3 separate regions of the Homo sapiens genome follow, and all the other regions are linked to region 1. Evidence: promoter capture Hi-C in 16 types of primary human blood cells and fetal thymus (Javierre and others, 2016). All regions are on one chromosome and are shown on one strand. The core of a region is centred on a gene start or on the middle of the fragment in contact, and the rest is flanking DNA. Distances in the headings are between cores, read along the strand shown. Region 1 holds the start of BCAR1 (BCAR1 scaffold protein, Cas family member). Region 2 overlaps GABARAPL2 (GABA type A receptor associated protein like 2). Region 3 holds the start of TMEM231 (transmembrane protein 231).

The links. Contacts are between HindIII fragments. The CHiCAGO score rates a contact against its expected background, and 5 or more counts as called.
Region 2: a contact is called between a fragment that was not itself captured here and the fragment with the promoter of BCAR1 in region 1, in 1 of 17 cell types (M2 macrophages). The highest score is 5.3, in M2 macrophages.
Region 3: a contact is called between a fragment that was not itself captured here and the fragment with the promoter of BCAR1 in region 1, in 1 of 17 cell types (M2 macrophages). The highest score is 6.2, in M2 macrophages.

Annotation. Positions count from the first base shown.
Region 1 is chr16:75,249,973-75,253,031 of GRCh38, forward strand. BCAR1 (BCAR1 scaffold protein, Cas family member) reads right to left here and starts at 1,652. Exons shown (of 7, transcript NM_014567.5): 1 at 1,499-1,652. The coding sequence starts at 1,510. RefSeq lists silencers at 1,535-1,694, 1,755-1,864 and enhancers at 1,864-2,404, 2,945-3,059. The HindIII fragment of the contact is 27,287 bases long and covers 1-3,059 here.
Region 2 is chr16:75,573,599-75,576,657 of GRCh38, forward strand. All of the region lies in intron 3 of GABARAPL2 (GABA type A receptor associated protein like 2), which reads left to right. Among named protein-coding and RNA genes, the nearest start is that of GABARAPL2, 8.7 kb to the left of the region's middle. RefSeq lists a silencer at 2,846-2,925. The HindIII fragment of the contact is 2,423 bases long and covers 208-2,630 here.
Region 3 is chr16:75,556,169-75,559,227 of GRCh38, forward strand. TMEM231 (transmembrane protein 231) reads right to left here and starts at 84. Exons shown (of 7, transcript NM_001077418.3): 1 at 1-84. The coding sequence starts at 41. RefSeq lists a silencer at 145-254 and enhancers at 295-374, 405-514. The HindIII fragment of the contact is 1,045 bases long and covers 874-1,918 here.

The DNA of each region.
Region 1 (3,059 bases), core at 402-2,901:
CGTATAATGGGAAAGGGGTTTGAGGAGCTGTCTCAGGGCCCCTCCTGTACAGACAGGAGGCCCTAGTGGCACTGTCCTTATTTCCATCCCTCGCCTAGACCTGGGGCCATGGTACCAGTACACAGTGCTCACCCTCCTGCTCAGACAAACAGTAACGGCCAGAAGCTCCAAGCCTCCTGCCCCAGCCCAAGGTGACTTTCCTGGCAGAACCTGGGACTGCCCTGCCCTGCCCTGCCTCCACCCAGCTCCCGGGCAAGCAGTGCCAGGAGGAAGTGTCAGCAGCTCCTCCCCAAAGCTCTTTTCCCCACAGCCCCGCCACCCCCGTACCTGGGCCCCGATTCTCCAGGCACCCCGACACCTGCTCTCACAGGCCGGCCAGCCCCCACCACCCAACTCTCCACCGAGGGAAAGGAATGGGCACAAGAGGGGGCGTGTCCCGGCCCAGGGCGATGGGAAACATCTCACTAGCAAAGAAGAGATCAACCCATGGTCATTCTGAGAAGGTGACCAAAGCTGCGGCGGGCCCCGGGAGGGGTGTGGGAAAGGAAACCAGGGACTCTCAGGAGGGAACGGGAGCCTTGTGGTAGAAAAGGAGCTGCTGTCCCCGATCTGGAACTCGAAACCCCAACATCTTCCAGGCCGTAAGCCCCTCACCCCGCACCCCTAGGCAAATCTCCGCTTTCCCAACTCCCTCACCTCGGTCCAGCGATCAGCCTCTCGGACCCTCGAGAGGGAGCTCCGACCCTGCTCTAGCTCTTGCGGGTCCCCCAACCATGGACTCCAAAGCCTTCATGTCCACACTGCAGAACCCGGCCCTGGCCCCCTCCCGCGACACTCGCGTGCGGCTAGGACTCCTGTGGCCAGGACCCGGCTTCCACCGGCGCTCGGCGTGCGGGGCTGCAAAGCCCGCGGCGCGCCCGCCCCCACTCCCGCTCCGCTCCCGGAACCCCGCGCCGGCGGCCGGAGTGAATCATTAACTGGAGCCGGGTGCTCCGGCTGCGCAGCCTTCCCCGCTGGCGCCACGCACTTGCCCGCCCGGCCTCGGTCCCCCGGAGCTCCTCCCTCTCCGGGAGCCGGTGGGCAGTCCCCACGCCACACCAGCCGGACCACCCGCCAGAGGCTCAACGGCCCCTCCTCGCAGCCGAGGAAACTGAGGCTCGGAGGCAGGGCGCAGAGGCCCAAGGTGACACAGCAGGCGGCCGTCGGCCGGGGAGCGCGGGCCCCGCCAGCCACTTTCCCGACACAGGAACCCTCCTACCGGCTGGCGGCCCCCGCGCCCGGCCCCGCCAACGCACCCGAGGCGCACAGGCTCCGGAGCCCCCGCGGTTCCTGCCTCCCGGCTTCCCGGCCAGGGCAGAAGGAGATCCCAGGGCCGCGGACCCCGGCCGGCGGTTCCCAGGCCCCGCAGGTCCGGCAGGAAATGCCGCTCGCTTAACCCCTTCCAGCCCGCTGCCGCCTCCAAGCCCGTACGCGGCCCGGCCCCACCTGGCGCCCTCACCAGGTGGTTCATGGTGTCCGGCGGGCCTGGGGCCCCGGCTCTCGCGGGGGCGCACACCGAGCTGCCCGGGCCGCGTGCCCTCGGGGCTCCGAGCGCGCCGCAGCCGCCCCGGTGCCGCCGCGCAGCTGCCGCCTCGGCCACCCAGAGCCGGTCCAGCCGCTCTCCGCCTGCCGCCACGGCCCAGCCGGCCCAGCCCGATCCCAGCATGCCCGGCCGCGCGCGCCCATTGGCCGCCGCCGCTCTCCATGCAAATAAGCCGCCTGTCGGGGGCGCGGGCGCGCAGACAGAAGCCCGCCCAGTAGGGGCCGCCCCCCGCCCCGCCCCCCACCTCCAACCCCGAGGCTCCAGGCCCCTGCCCGAGGCCAGGCTTCCAGCCTAGGGCGCAGGACACCGCTCTCCAACAAATGCACGTCCCCGCCTTCCACCCAGGCGAGAACGCACCGAAGGCCTACGCAAACTCCTCCACTTCTGGGAAGGCTGCCCGGTTTGCCTTCTTCCTCCAGAGCCGAGACATGGCCTCAAGTCGACTTGTCTTTCCCGCTAACCAACCCCAGGGCATTCATCGCGTGTCCATGGGCCGTGGGACTCAAATCTGAATCTAGAGGGAAAGGGGAGGGGGCGTGCCCCAGCCTGTAGGAGACGAATCATCACCACCACAGCTCCGACTGTAGACGGTCCCACCGTGTAAGGACCCCAGGAAATGAAGCCTCAAGCAGGGAGGCTGGCGAGCTCTCGACCCAGCGCTTTTCACGGGCAGCACCTACCTTCCCCTGCATTGTGCCGACATCTGGGGACTCGGGCTGGTCCTCCAGCTGATCTGCCTCCTCTCATTACTCATTCCTAGGTTCAGCCTAAAACCTGGGCCTAGTACCCTCCTGAGTCCTGCTCCAACTCATCTGCTTCAGCGACATGGGGTAGGAGAGCGGCACTGGGGGAATGAGGGAGATAGAAGGAAGAATCACTCGGGGGAAACCGAGTGGAGACAACCTTGGCTCTCCTGAGTTGCCCCTTGCTCGGTTGCAGGTCAGTGACTGTCACCCCATGCAGCAGAACCAGGGTGCCAGAGCCCCTGGGCCAGGCCAGGGAGGCACAATCTGCAGGGAGATGATAGGACCGAGCCTGGTCCAGACCAGACAGGACCCTCAGTCAACAATCCTGGGCCACTGGCTGAGCAATGGGATGCCACGAGGCAGCCCTGGTGGCAGGGAAGCAGCGGGGTAGACCCGGCTTCACGCAGCAGAGAATTCTCAAGCATGGCCTATGGAAGACACAAGCCCAGGTGGGCCTGCAGCTGCCCCTCTGTCTGACCCCCAGGGCTCAGCCTACGCAGCGCCTGGCCAGATGTGCCACCTTGGCAGGCCCTCTCCCCTCTCTGGGCTCCTTTCTCATCTGAAAAGGGGCTAGGACAGCCCATGATTTGCTGCTCAGGTGCTCTGGGGAGCTAGTTAAAAAACAGACTCCTGTGTCCCACCCCTCCCAAAAAACTGGACGTCTGCATTTCTTCAATATTTGGCTTGGGAAGCATTGGCCAGAACTCACAGCACAGCGGGTGAGGAAGGAG
Region 2 (3,059 bases), core at 169-2,668, 320 kb after region 1:
AAGGAGAGAGCCCTAAGACCTTGCTACTCAGCATGTGATGCAGAGACTGGCAGCAGTCGCCTTACCTGGGAGCTTGATGTTCCGATGGTTGGTACCAACATTTGTATGAGAAGCACTGTTCTAAGGAAGATCTCTGCAGAAGGTACAAGGACTCTAATGTTAGGTCATCAGAGCAGATCTAGCTGTCTAATCACTTGGAGGCAGCAAAGCTTGGTGGTCTCCTAGTTTTGTGACCTGGAGTGAATTTAGAATCTCTGTGCCTCAGTTTTCCTATCTAGGAACTATGGATTATGGTACCATCTACCTCATGAGATTGTTTTGAGGATAAAGAGTTAATACATGTAATGTATAAGCAGTGCTTGGCACATGTGTTGCCATTATAGTTAGGATTTTTACTATCAGCTTCTGTAGCTACTAGGGCACTGCTTAAACAAATTAATGAACCCAAGTTTTACTTAAAAGACAATGGAATCTAAAGCCAGAAAGGAATGAAAGCCACATGATTGTGGGCCTCCTGTCCTGCCAAGAGTCAGGGCTCAGAGTCTCACGACCTGCCTTCAACAGTAGCGGTCCAGTGGTTATTGTTCACCCTGGATAGCATACACAGGCCCGGGGGTGGGCTGCTGGTGTTTACGAAGCTCTTCAAATGTTTCTAATGTAGCAGCGGGATTTAGAATCATTGTACTAGGGCTTCTAACTTGCTAGGAAAAGAGCAGAACTTAGTCTGTTTGGAACCAAACTTGACAGAGACACTATGGGGCGACTCTGAATTGCACACAATGTCTGCTACTGCATCTAAACCCATCTGGTAGTGGCAGCGGGGAGATGTTACGACAGTTGTCATCAAGATCACCCTGGACACTTGGACAAATGGGGTAAAGAGTTGTGGCAGTAGCTGTAGTTGTTTTCCCATTAGCCTCATTCTGAGGAGTTTCAGAGAAAAATGGGGTTACTCTCTGGGCATTCTCAACCACCAGGGTAAAAATCTTGGGAGACTCAGCTACATGTTCAAGCCCTTCTGCTAGTTTCTGGCTTGTCATTTCACTTCCTGGCTTGTCACTCTACTTCCTAATCACATAGCTTTTAAAGATGACCCTCCCTTCTCCCCCCCAACAAAAGGTCAGGCATTTCCCTTTGCAACCTGGCTGCATATGGAATCATTTTTGGCATTTAAAAATATACTGATGAGGCCGGACACGGTGGCTCACCTGAGGTCAGGAGTTCAAGACCAGCCTGGCCAACATGGTGAAATCCCACCTCTACTAAAAACAAAAACAAAAACAAATTAGCCAGGCGTGGTGGCATGCACCTGTAATCCCAGCTACTTGGGAGGCTAAGACATGAGACTTGTTTGAACCGGAAGGTGGAGGTTGCAGTGAACCGAGATCCTGCTACTGTACTCCAGCCCAAGCGACAGAGCAAGACTCTGTCTTTACAAAACAAAACAAAACATAGTGATGATTTCATTGGTCTGGGGTAGGGCTTGGGCACAGAGATGTTTTTAAAGCTCTCTTTAAAGTAAGATTCTGATGTGCAGCCAAGGCTGAGACCCACGGCTGCAGGCGTTGTTCCTCCCTCTACCCACTGCCCCCTAAGTCTTGTTCTGGGGCAGTGCTGTCAGTAGAAATGGATGCAAGCCACATATGTAATTTAAGAATTTTCTAGTAGCCACATTAAAAAAATAAAAACAGTTGAAATTAATTTTTTTTTTTTTGAGACAGAGTTTTGCTCTTGTTGCCCAGGCTGCAGTACAATGGCACGATCTTGGCTCACTGCAACCTCCACCTCCCAGGTTAAAGCGATTCTCCGGCCTCAGCTTCCCGAGTAGCTGGGATGACAGGCGTGCACTACCATGCCTGGATACTTTTTTTGACAGAGTCTCGCTCTGTCGCCCAGGCTGGAGTGCAGTGGCACGATCTCGGCTCACTGCAAGCTCCGCCTCCCAGGCTCACGCCATTCTCCTGCCTCAGCCTCCTGAATAGCTGGGACCACAGGTGCCCGCCACCACGCCCAGCTAATTTTTTGTATTTTTTAGTAGAGACGGGGTTTCACCGTTGTTAGCCAGGATGGTCTCAATCTCCTGACCTTGTGATCCACCCGCCTCGGCCTCCCAAACTGCTGGGATTACAGGTGTGAGCCACCGCGCCCGGCTTACTTTTGTATTTTTAGTAGAGACAGGGTTTCACTATGTTGGTCAGGCTGGTCTTGAACTCCCGACCTCAGGTGATCCACTTAATATATTTTATTTGACCCAGTATATCCATAATTTTATCATTTCAACATGTAATCAAAATTGAGCTATTTTGCTGCATTTTCATACTAAGTCTGAAGCCTTGTTTATGTTTTACACTGCACATCCCAATTCACACGAGCCAGACTTTCAAGTGCTGAATGTAGCTAGTGGCTGCTGTGGCAGTGATACAGGACATTTCAATCAGAGCAGAGATTTCTATTGAACAGTTCTGTTCCAGGGAGTCCTTATTTTACAAATTCCAGGCTAAGAGGTCCTCACAGGGAGCACCGTTTTTATTGTACAAGATGCTGATGACAGGTTCTTTCATATTCAAATTCAGACCTCCCCCACATTGTTACTTAATAATTCTCATCTACCCACACAGCCATCCGAGCTAAGCTTGCAAATGGGGCAGGAAGAACAGGAAAAAAACTCAAAACCTCCCCCTTCATAAATGTGGTATTTGTCCATGTTTACATGGAGGTTCCACTCAGCCCTTGAGGAGCAAAGCAGCAAGTGGGGCAGTCACTGTTTCCTCAGGTTGAGGCCTTGGACTCCTTATCTTCCCCACTGGCTCTTGGTTTATGAGTTCCCCTTTTAAGGATCTGTTGTGACTTACCTATCTGGGCTAGTGACCTCAGATGTCTCAGACTGAGCATCTTACCACTGTTTCTGGTTGATCCCTTCACTCATGGTCTTAACACATTTGCACTTCCTCTCATCTCAGAGAGTACAGTCACGGGGCAGAGCTTGCATAGGGATCCAGGTGTTACTAGTCTTACTCTGGAGCTGGTCCAACTCAGTTTCATGGCACAGAACTAGATTA
Region 3 (3,059 bases), core at 146-2,645, 310 kb after region 1:
CTGCGCTCGACCGGGTGAGAGAAGAGCTCATAGAGCGCCATGAGCACCGCTCGCAGGCACTCCGCGAGCCGGGGGACCAAGTTTGGCTTCTCCTGGTTGCCATCGCCTCGGTCTCCACGGCAACCGACGGCTCACAGAAAGGAGCCAATAGCAAGGCCGCACCGAAAGGAGCCAGTGGCGGGGGCGGGGTTAGCGGGCGTGGCGCTGCCGGGGACGGTCGGCCTAGCTTTTCGAGCTGTGTACGTTTGCGTAAAGGCTGGGCGGCGATAGAACGTTTCCGTGGACCAGAGTCGTGGCTGTTGTCTGTGTTAACATTTGTGTAAAATAAGATGCCCATAAAAGTTGACTTGAACACTGAGGAGGAAGAACTAAATATTTAAATTTCAACTGACATGGACACAAACAATGGTCACCAAGTCCCTAAACAGGTTGTGGGAGCCCCTTGAGGCGTTCATCCAGCGCTGTTTCGGAGAAATCTCTATTTCAGTCTACTCCTATACGTCAGTTATTGAAAAACAACAATCGCAAAAACAAGTTGACCTTTTTGTGTTCCTTGAGCCCAGTCGCAAAGGGCCCTCGTGACTGGGCCTCATGCTAGACAACATGTTACAAAAAGATCTAGGGTCCCAGACCACGCCAAAAAGCTTCATGAGACCTCTCCTCGTCTGTGCACTGACGAGTGGCCGGCTCTGGAGCCCAGGTCGTTGCTTCCCAGTCTGGAGGTGAATCCTCCATAGTCTGGTGAGTGTAAATATATATATATATATGTCTTTTTCCTTCTCCTCTTCCCATTGCAATTTGCTTATTATATCAATCTGCTTATTATATTAATTTGCTTATTATAATATCTGCATTGCCATTTACGTGGGATAAAGCTTGCTTACCCTTAAAGGTACTGTGTGTGTGCCTTTTCTTCTCCCCTAGCGCGTCTCCCGCACAGAACGAACACCTGCTTTTGTGTCATCTGTTAACCCCCAGTGTGGTTCCTACTGAAGTCCAGTCAGTCACAAGCCTGGCCGTGGTCCTGGACCTGGTCCTGGGCTGAGATCAAAGCCAGGTGCTTTTGCCCCCAGATTTTCTGTTGCTTCCACTATGCTCCCATGCAAGACAGACACGGAAACACAAATCCCCTGGCTCTTCCACGGATAGAGTGGAATTACTACAAAGCTCTGATGCACTTCGTTAACCCTGTGTTGGGTACAGCTCAGCCGCGAGTTTTACAGGAATATATGGTCCTCCCCAAAGATCACTGGCTTATTGCTTAATTGAATGCCTACACCCCCCCGCCACCACCCCCAACCAATATTTCTAACATGGTAGAAGGACTTTTTAAAAAAATCTATGGTCCACAGCCAATTTCTTCATCAAATGGCCCTGAATGGCTGGGCACGGTGGCTCACGCCTGTAATCCCAACACTTTGGGAGGCCAAGGTGGGCGGATCACCTGAGGTCAGGGGTTCAAGACCAGCCTGGCCAACATGGTGAACCCTCATCTCTACTAAAAATACAAAAATTAGCCAGGCATGGTGATGGGCACCTGTAATCCCAGCTACTCTGGAGGCTGAGGCAGGAGAATCGCTTGAACCCGGGAGGCACAGATTACAGTGAGCGGAGATCACACATTGGACTCCAGCCTGGGTGGCAGCGAGACTCCATCTCAAACAACAACAACAACAACAAAAAGGTCCTGAGTGGCTGAGCACAGTGGCTCATGCCTGTAGGTCCAGCTACTCGGGAGGCCTGGGCAGGAGGAAGGCTTGAGCCCAGGAGGCTGCAGTGAGCCATGAATGCACTACTGCACTCCAGGCTGGGAGACAGAAGGAGACCTTGTCTCTAAAAAAATAAATACAAAATATTTAAATATAAGTAAATTTGTTAAAGGGTCAGTAAAATGACATTTAAGTGGAAAGACATGATAAGCTTTGTGATTTGGAAAAGTCACTCTAATGACAGCATGTCAGTAGTGTAAACCAAAATGTATCTGAGACAAGTCTCAATCAACGTAGAAATTTATTTTGCCAAGGTTAAGGACATGCCTGTGACACAGCCTCAGGAGGTCCTGATGACATACGCCCAAGGTGGATAGGGTATAACTTGAGTTTATACATTTAGGGAGACATAAGACATCAATCAATACGTGTAAGATGTACATTGGTTCAGTACTGAAAGATGAGACAAGTGGAGGTGGGGTGGGGCTTCCAGACCACAGAATTGGCAGATTCAGAGATTTTTCCAATTGTCAACTGGTTATTATCTAAAGACCTGGAATCAATAGAAAGGAATGTGTGGGTTTGTGGGCGGGGCACAGTGGCTCACGCCTGTAATCCCAACACTTTGGGAGGCCAAGGCAGGCAGATCACTTGAGGTCAGGAGTTCAAGACCAGCCTGGCCAACATGGTGAAACCCTGTCTCTACCAAAAATATGTATTAAAAAAAAAAACATTAGCTGCATCTGGCGGTGTCCACCTGTAATCCCAGCTACTTGGGAGGCTGAGGCAGGAGAATTGCTTTAACCCGGGAGGCAGCAGCTGCAGTGAGCCGAGATCATACCACTGCACTTCAGCCTGGGTGACAAAGTGAGACTCCATTTCAAAAAAAAAACAAAAACAAAAAACAATAAGGGGTTGTGGAGTCTAATGTTTTATCATGCAGATGAAGCCTCCAGGCTTCAGAGAGAACAGATTGTAAATGTTTCTTATCAGACTTTAAGAGTCTGTTCTATTAATATCAGTCTTAAGATCTATGTGTTGATGCTAATACTGGTCAGCTGGGTCTGAATTCCAAAAAGAGGAGGGTATAATGAGTTACGTCTGACTCCCCACTTCCCATGATGGCCAGACTAGTTTTTCAGGTTAACTTTGGAATGCCCTTGGCTGAGACAAGGGTTCCATTCAGATGGTTGGGAGCTTAGAATTTTATTTTAGGTTTACAGTATACCAGGATGGGGTCATTGAGTGAGGGGTGAGGAAAAACAGAAGTCAGGGAGACCAGTCAAGAGGCTGTTGAGGCTGGGTGAAGTGGCTCATCTTAGCACTTTTGTCAGAGGTGTTTGAACCAAA